Regions from separate parts of the Homo sapiens genome. Here region 1 is linked to region 2. The links are contacts of gene promoters, found by promoter capture Hi-C in human tissues and cell types (Jung and others, 2019). All regions are on one chromosome and are shown on one strand. The core of a region is centred on a gene start or on the middle of the fragment in contact, and the rest is flanking DNA. Distances in the headings are between cores, read along the strand shown.

Region 1 (4,186 bases), core at 1,575-4,074, 220 kb after region 2:
CAAATTCACTAATCATGAGGGATATGCAAATTAAACCACAATGAGATATCTTACTCCAGTTAAAATGGCTTTCATCAAAAAGACAAAACAGATGCTGGCAAGAATGCAGAGAAAAGGGAATGCTTGTATACTGTTAGTGAGAATGTAAATTTGTACAGCTGTTATGGAAAACAATATGAAGTTTCTCAAAAAACTAAAAATAGAACTACCCTATGATCCAGAAATGCCACTGCTGGGTATATATCCAAAAGAAAGGAAAGCAGTATATCAAAGAGATATCTGAACTCCTATTTTTACTGCAGCACTATTCACAACAGCTAAGATACGGAATTAACCTAAGTATCCATCAATGGATAAATGGATAAAGAAAGCATGCTGCATATACACAATGGAATATTATTCAGCCATAAAAAAGAATGAAATTTTGCAGTTTGCAACAACATGGATGGAACTGGAGGACATTATGTTAGTGAAGAAAGCCAGGCACAGAAAGACAACTAGTACATGTTTTCACTCATATGTGGGAGCTAAAACAATTGATCTGATAGAGATAGTGAGTAGAATGATGGTTACCAGAGGCAGGACCCTGTCTTGAGCATTTGTTGTTATGCCCATGGCAGTTTTTCAATATATGTTTATCAAGCTCCAAATATTGCATTGGGGAATAAGCAATGAATACAGCAGACAAAGTCTTGATCTCAGGGAGCTTTCCTTCTAATGATCAAGATAGTCAGCTGATTGGAAAATGCCGGGAGGTGATGAGTGCTCTGAAGGAAAGTAGAACCAGCTGAGAGGAAAGAGGGCAGAGGTGGGAAAGGGACATTCTAGATAAAAGATCAAGGAATCCCTGTCCACTCTCCACCTCTCCCCAACCACCAGATCCCTGTATCCATACATCCATGTCCACTTGGATATTCAGCAGGCATCTCAACTTTGCATGTCCATTCAATTTCTACCTTCAAACCTGCCCTTTCTGCCATCTTTTCCTTCTCTGAAACTCTATTGGGGAAAGTGGAGTTACCCATTTTTGACTCAAGTCAAAAACCATGGAGGCAACCTTCCTGCTTTCATAATTCTTGTTCAATCGAGAAATATACCTGTTCGTCTCTACCTTCCAAATACCCAGATTTCCCACACTCTTTCCACCCCTTCCACTACCCGCCAGTCCCATTCCCCAATAACTCCCACCTGGATTTTTGCTGTTGGCCTCTACCTGGTCTCTGTGCTTCTGCCCTCACTCCTTCCAAAGTCTACTCAGCACAGCAGCCGTCAGCCTTAAATCTGATTATATCAGTCCTGGGCTTGAACCCTCCAATGACGCTCATCTCATTCGGATTAAAAGTCAAAGGGCCCACTAGGCTGGGTACAATTCCCCTCCTCCCTTCTGATTTTATTTTTTTCCTTTTCCTTGTTGTTCACTCTCCACTGCCCTTGCCCCCTGGCTGTTGCTTAATGTCGCAAGCACATTCCTGCCTTAAGACCACTGCCTGGAACATTCTCCCCTTGGGGATCACTCATTTCCTTTCATAAATGCACCTCATCCTCTCACTCCCACTGCAGTCCTGCCAGCTTATTCTTTATCTTTCTCTTCAGGACTTCTCACACCTGCTGTACTCTATGTTTATCTAGTTTACTTCATTTGTTTTTCTCTTTTTTCCTCTCATCCCTCCCACAACTGGAGTATAAACTCTGTGGCAGTGTTCACGCAATCTATTATTGTCCCTGTTTTACAAATAAGGAAACTAAAGTTTAGGTAGGTCGGAGAACTTGCCCAAGGGAGTAAGATAGGTAGAGACTGGTACCCACTCTTGTCTAAGCCAACGCCCATGGTCTTAACTGCAACAGCTCAATTGTGTTTCAATCACAAGCTTAATAAAGACACAATCAGAGAACTCTCTTAAAGTGGGAACCAAAGCCCAGAAATGCTGAGATGGTCACGAGGCATTCAGAGGCCAGTAAGGAGTCAACCAAAGTGGAGCACACTGGAAAACACTGGAAAATACAACCGGAAGGAGCCCAATTGCATAGATCCTTAGAGCCCGGAATAAATAAGAGAGTGTGGATTTTATGTAATGTAATATAATAGATTTCTGAGTAGAAAAGTGAGATAAAGAGGAGTTTTAAAGAAAAATTAATGTGGTAGTAAAAATGTCCATACATTCTTTGACACTCCTTCTTTCAAAAGAAGGAGGCTGATTTTCCTTCCCTTAAATGTGGGCTGGATTTAGGGACATGCTTCTAACAAATATGTCGAAAGGACTGATAGGTGATTTCTATGACTGGGTCATAAAGCACATGGCTGCTTCTATCTTGCTCTTGACCCTCTCCGTGTTTTCTACACATACATCTGTGTGTTTCCAAGACCTGAATTGGGAATCCTCCTCACCCTACAGTTCCCCATGCAGACTCCTCCATATGTGGAGGCTCCATTCTTCTGTCACCTCCCTTGCTATCCTTGCCTGCCTAGGGCAGTCCAGCACTCTGTTGTTTCTGCCAGCACTCATCATTCCTTTTTACTTGTCTGTCTCCTGCTCTAATGCCACTGGTATAATAATACTTCCTCTGCTCTCTTGACTTTGTCTGCTGGCTTTGACTTCTCATTTCTGACAGATGCCTGGCTCCACAGACTCCTTATCCACCATATGCTCCACCCCTCACTGCTGGGGATGTTTTCTCTTCGTCTTGGTTTATCAGTGCTGCCAATTCATCAGCAGCTTCCAGCTCCACCCAGGGCTTCCCAGACACTGGATGGTCATGGTGTGGCTCCAGTAGGCAGGTCTCAGCCTTCTGTTCATTCCATACCTCTCCATTCCCCAATTCAGAAATAGCGCTTTTTGTGGGGGAAGGGACTAATGCATAGATCATCTCCATGGTGACAGTGGACAGTATCTTCTTCATTTTCGAGTTAGAAAATAATCCACTTTTTATGTCACAGAGCCTTGACTGGTGGCCACCTCTCCTGGCAGTCTTTCCCTTGATTTTAAAATAAATAATTAAATATCCAGTAGTTGTGCTAAGGACTGAATTGTGTCCCCCCTCTGAAAATCTGTATGTTGAAGCCTTCTCCCCCAATCTGACTGCATTTAGAGATAGAACCTGTAGGAGGTAATTAAGGTCAAATGCGATCATAAGGGAGGGGCCCTGATAGGATTAGGATTAGTGTCCTTATAAGAGGAGACAGTAGAGCCTCTCCCTCCCCCAGTGCAGGCACAGAGAAGAGGTCATGTGAGCACACAGCAAGATGGTGGCCACCAACTAGCCAGGAAGAAGGGCCTCACTGGAAACCGGCCATGCTGGCACCATGATCTCAGATGTCCAGCCTTCAGAGCCATGAGAAAATAAATGTTGGGTGTTTAAGCCCCCCAGTCTATAGTATTTTGTTATGGCAGCCTGAAATGACAAGTTGTAATCTTTGGTAGTAATAAATAATTTTGAGCATTTAGAAAAAGAAACAGCCATATGAGATAAATTTTGGTTCTGTTTTTATTAATTCATAACAGCTCTCATTGTATCATTGCTTTTAGATTAGAACCACATTTTTCCAATCTAAGAGTCTACTTGCTTCCAAAGGCCTCTAGTTTCCAACAGTTACTTATTTCCCAACTTTGCCATAGGGAAAACAGTCTAACAATTATGTAACAATTAAAAAGTGTAACCACTTCTCCTCTTGTCTAATCCACTTTTCATGAAAAGCAATGCCTGAAGGGTGGTCATTTTCCCTACAATGAGCAGGTAATTCCTAATGTTCATTGTACTGGGGAAGAAGAAAAGGCGTGTGTAGGGGGAGAAGTATATGTGTCCTCAATGGCAAGGTCACCAGGAGCCTCAGAAACCTCCCTCATTTCTTCCAAACATCTGATTCAAGCCTCACTAGGTTAACACATATGTCTTCCCTAACAATTTCATCTTCCTTTGAGTTTCTGCATATTTAATTTCCATTCTAATTAACACTCCCTAACTTATGTATTGTTAGTCCATTTTGCATTGCTATAAAGGAATATCTGAGACTGGGTAATTTATAAAGAAAAGAGGTTTATTTTGGCTCACTGTTCTGCAGACTGTGCAATAAGCATGGTGCCAGCATCTGCCTCTGGTGAGGCCTTAGGAAGCTTTCACTTATGTCAGAAGGGGAAGGGGAAACAGGTGTGTCGCATGGTGAGAGAGGGAGCAAGAGAGAGGGGAGGAG
Region 2 (4,701 bases), core at 1,091-3,590:
AGAAGTAGGCTTACAAAAAAGACAACGAATTGTCATGGCTTAGGTGACAGATTCAGAAATCTGACACTGGAATTGTCTCTCTGAAGGCACTGCACAGATTTCTCAGAGCTAAGGAATACAGCCTTGCCCCAGGCTCACGGAGACAAGCAGAAATGGCACCGAGCAGGAGGTGACAAATTCAGTCAACTATACAGCAGGTGCCTCTTCATTTAGACCTAACGGTGGGGCCAGTCTCATAGTCCAGTTCCAGTGTGGAGCTCGGGGACCAGGTGAGGCCAGGCCAGCCAGCAGGATGTGTAGTGTTAGGAGGGAGGCCCAATGCTGCAAAAGGCTTCCACCTCTGGCAAAGCAGGTGCACCCTCCAGTGCAAGCCCCTCTTGAGGTCCATGCTAGTTTTCAAAAAATATTTCCCATAGCATTTGTAACTTTGTTTCTCATACTGGGTGGTGTGTAACACAGGTGGTTCTCTGCTGTTTCTTATTTGCCTGAAATGTGCGACAATAAAAATGATCAGCACAAGAAAGACATCACAAACATAAGAAAAGGGGGGCCACAGAAGGAACAAAAATCAGTAAGAAATGCAGCACTGGCAAGAAAGACCCAAACTTCAGAAATCCTCCAGATTTAGGGGATCTGAAATTTGAATTCTGGAAGGACTGGACTCAAGGAATTCCAACCTGAGATCACATTCTGGGTTCTGAGTATTCAGACTAAACATCTGCTGGGTGGCAATGGGCTGTTACCCAGTTCACCTCTACCCCACCCTCACTTCTAGAGGGATACCTCTCCACCCTCCTTCACACTCACACACACCTCTCACCTCTAGACCACACACACATCCCTCACCTCTAGACCACACACACATCCCTCACCTATAGACCACACACACACACCTGTCACCTCTAGACTACACACACACACCCCTCACCTCTAGAACAAACACACACACATCTCACCTCTAGAACACACACACAACTCACCTCTAGAACACACACACACACACATCCCTTACCTCTAGAACACACACACCTCTCACTTCTAGAACACACACACCCATCATCTCTAGAACACACACATCTCACCTCTAGAACACACACCCCTCAACTCCAGAACACACACACACCCCTCACCTCTAGAACACACATACACACCTCATCTCTAGAACACACACTCTCCTCAGCTCTAGAATACACATACACCCCCTCACCTCTAGAACACACACACCCCTCACCTCTAGACCACACACACATCCCTCACCTCTAGACCACACACACATCCCTCACCTATAGACCACACACACACACCTGTCACCTCTAGACTACACACACACACCCCTCACCTCTAGAACACAGATACACACACACCTCTAGAACACATGCACGCACCCCTCACCTCTAGAACACACACACACACATCTCACCTCCAGAACACACACACCCCTCACTTCTAGAACACACACACCCCTCACCTCTAGAATACACACACCCCTCACCTCTAGAGCGCACGCACACACACCCCCTTCACCTCTAGAACACACATGCACACACCCCTCACCTCTAGAACACACATACAGACACCTCACCTCTGGAACACACACACCCCTTACCTCTAGAACACACACACACATCTCACCTTTAGAACACACACACACACCCCTCACCTCTAGAGCACACACACACACACACACCCCCACCTCTAGAGCACACACACACACATCCACCTCTAGAGCACACACACACCTCCCACCTCTAGAGCGCGCGCACACACACACCCCCCTCACCTCTAGAACACACGCACACACCCCTCACCTCTACAGTGTGTGTGTGCGCGCACACACACACACTCATCTCTAGACCCCGCACAGCGCACCCCTCACCTGCAGACACACTTCACAGCCCCCTCCTCACTCGCCCCCATCGTTCAGGACCATCGCTGTCTCCACACTCACCTCTCCCCTCAAGGCCTCTCTCATTGCCCCCTCACCCCGAACTTTAGCGCCAGTTTTCCCCTCCCCAGGCCCTCCCCACCGTTGCCTCTTTCCGGCTCCCCTTCCACCCGGCCGACTGCCTCACCGCTGCTCGGGACTCAGCAGTGCGCGGTACTCGGCGCAGCGGCCCAGGAAGATGTCCCGCAAGTGTGCGCTGGTGCCCTCCCCGCGCCACCGCGCGCGCGCCCCGCCCGCCGCCAGCAGCAACAGTAGAAGCAGAAGCTGCAGCAGCAGCTGGAGCAGCCGCGATGCCGCGCACCCCTGGGCCGCCATCGGGGAACTTTGGTCCCTCCAGTCCCGTGCTTCCTCCACTCCCCTTCTCTCCTTCTACCAAGGCGGTTCCGCAAACTGATGCAGGGCGGGACTCTCGCTCGGATATCTCGCTGTTTGCCGTTTCCCGTTCCAGACAATTTCAAGACTGAGCGTGGGGCGGGGCGCGGCGGCTCATGCCTGTAATCCCAGCACTTTGAGAGGCCTAGACGGGCGGATCGCTTGAGTATAGGAGTTCGAGACAAACCTGAGTAACATACAGGTGAGAAACCTCCTCTCTACAAAAAAATACAAAACTTAGCTGGTCCTGGTGGTGCGCATCTGTAGTCTCAGCTACCTGCGAGGTGAGATGTGAGGAGGCTTGACCCCAGGGGATCGAGGCTGCAGCGAGCAGTGATTGCACCACTGCACTCCAGCCCTGGGCGACAGAGTGAGACTCTGTCTAAAAAAAAAATTAATAAATAAATAAAATTAAAAAAGAGTGAGCTTGGAACATCACCCAGGACAGGACCAGTGCACTGTGGCCCAGGCTAATCTTGACCGCTGTCCACGGGGAGGGAGCCCCAAAGAAGCCGCAAGGTTGAAGGAGAGGTGAGGAGAGGTCAGTCATCATCAGAAGAAATACTTTTCTGGCTCCAAAGGACGACAACTTTGACAGATGCCCTCTTTCACACCAACCAATAAGTGGTGTTTGTTTGTTTTCAGGAAATAATAACCACAACAACGTGCCAAGCACTTTGCAAGTATAATATTAATTACTTTCCGCAACACCCTTCCTAGCTAAGTTTGTAATTTCTCTCGCTTTAGCAATGGATAAACTCAGGGAAGTTAAGCATGTTCGGCCCTCCAGATTTGCGGATTCATCATCCAAATTCAGCTAACCACGGATGAGAAACATTTGAGGAAAAAAAGAATGCTTGCATCTGTACGGAACATGTACGGACTTTTTTTTCCTTGTCATCATTCCCTAAATAATCCAATGTAACAACTACTTATGTAACAATTACATAGTACTTGATATTACAAGGAATCTGGAGATGACGTGAATTATAGAAGAGGATGTGCAAATACTGTATACTACACCATTTAATATAAGGGCCTTGAGCATCTGTGGATTTTGGTATCCAGGAGGTTCCTGGAACCAATTCTCCATGGATACCTACCGCCGACTGTAACTTGTCAGAGGTCACAATATCCCTTCCTGATAGATGCAAAATCCTGGAGATGTTCAGTTTAAGAGAGCCAGGATTGGCCGGGCGCGGTGGCTCACACCTGTAATCCCAGCACTTTGGGAGGCCGAGGCGGGTGGATCACGAGGTCAAGAGATCGAGACCATCCTTGCTAACACGGTGAAACCCCGTCTCTACTAAAAATACAAAAGATTAGCCAGGCGCGGTGGCGGGCGCCTGTTGTCCCAGCTACTCGGGAGGCTGAGGCGGGAAAACGGCGTGAACCCAGGAGGCAGAGCTCGCAGTGAGCCGAGATCGGGCCACTGCACTCCAGTCTGGGCAACAGAGTGAGACTCCGTCTCAAAAAAAAAAAAAAAAAGAGCCAGTATTAATAGAATACCACGTGGAGGCCCAAGTCCTCAATTCTTACAATAATGACAGCAATGAACTTTGAGTGCCTGGCAAGCACTTGATAAACACAAGGGAGGACAGAACAGGTGTTCTCTACTGTTTTATTTGAATCTCTTTTTTTCTGTAACCAAAACCCGCATTCTCCTGTTCAGTTCCTCCTTAAGTTAAATCCACTTTCCAGAGGAAAGCATTTTTAATTCTTTCAAGTTTTGTTCCTGTGTTTACTTCCATATTTCTAAATAACATGTGTGAACCCGCAAATTTTGAGACAGGTCTCAATTAATTTAGAAAGTTTATTTTAGCAAGGTTGAGGACACGTGTCCATGACACAACCTCAGGAAGTCCTGACGACATGTACCCAAGGTGGTCAGGGCACAGCTTGGTTTTATACATTTTAGGGAGACATGAGATATCAATCAATATATGTAAGAAGTACATTGGTTCTGTCCAGAGAGGCGGGGACAACTCGAAGCACGGAGGGGGCTTCCAGGTCTCAGGTAGGTGAGAGACAAATGGTTGCCTTCTTTTGAGTTTCTGATAAGCCTTTCCAAAGAAGGCCATCAGAATATGCATATATCTCAGTGAGCAGCTGAATGACTTTGAATAGAATGGGAGGCAAGTTTGCCCTGAGCAGTTCCCAGCCTGACTTTTCCCTTTAGTTTAGTAATTTTGGGGCATCCCTGGCATGGCTCGTCCCACCAAATCTAATGTGAAATTGTAATCCCCAACGTTGGAGGTGGGGCCTGGTGGGAGGTGATTTTATCATGGGTGTGGGTTTCTCAAGAATAGTCTAGCACCATCCCCTTGTTGCTATTCTCATGATAGTAAGTGAGATCTGGTTGTTTTAAACTGTGTAGCACTGGC

The links. The method cuts DNA at HindIII sites, captures the fragments that hold promoters and counts their contacts. A contact is called where the count stands out against the background at its distance.
Region 1: a contact is called between a fragment that was not itself captured here and the fragment with the promoter of BST1 in region 2, in 1 of the 25 tissues and cell types used here (dorsolateral prefrontal cortex).

The regions. Positions count from the first base shown.
Region 1 is chr4:15,481,543-15,485,728 of GRCh38, reverse strand. The region is part of intron 4 of CC2D2A (coiled-coil and C2 domain containing 2A); the gene reads right to left. Among named protein-coding and RNA genes, the nearest start is that of CC2D2A, 14 kb to the right of the region's middle. The HindIII fragment of the contact is 5,893 bases long and covers 1-4,186 here.
Region 2 is chr4:15,700,704-15,705,404 of GRCh38, reverse strand. BST1 (bone marrow stromal cell antigen 1) reads right to left here and starts at 2,340. Exons shown (of 9, transcript NM_004334.3): 1 at 2,073-2,340. The coding sequence starts at 2,260. RefSeq lists a silencer at 2,322-2,401. The HindIII fragment of the contact is 14,003 bases long and covers 1-4,701 here.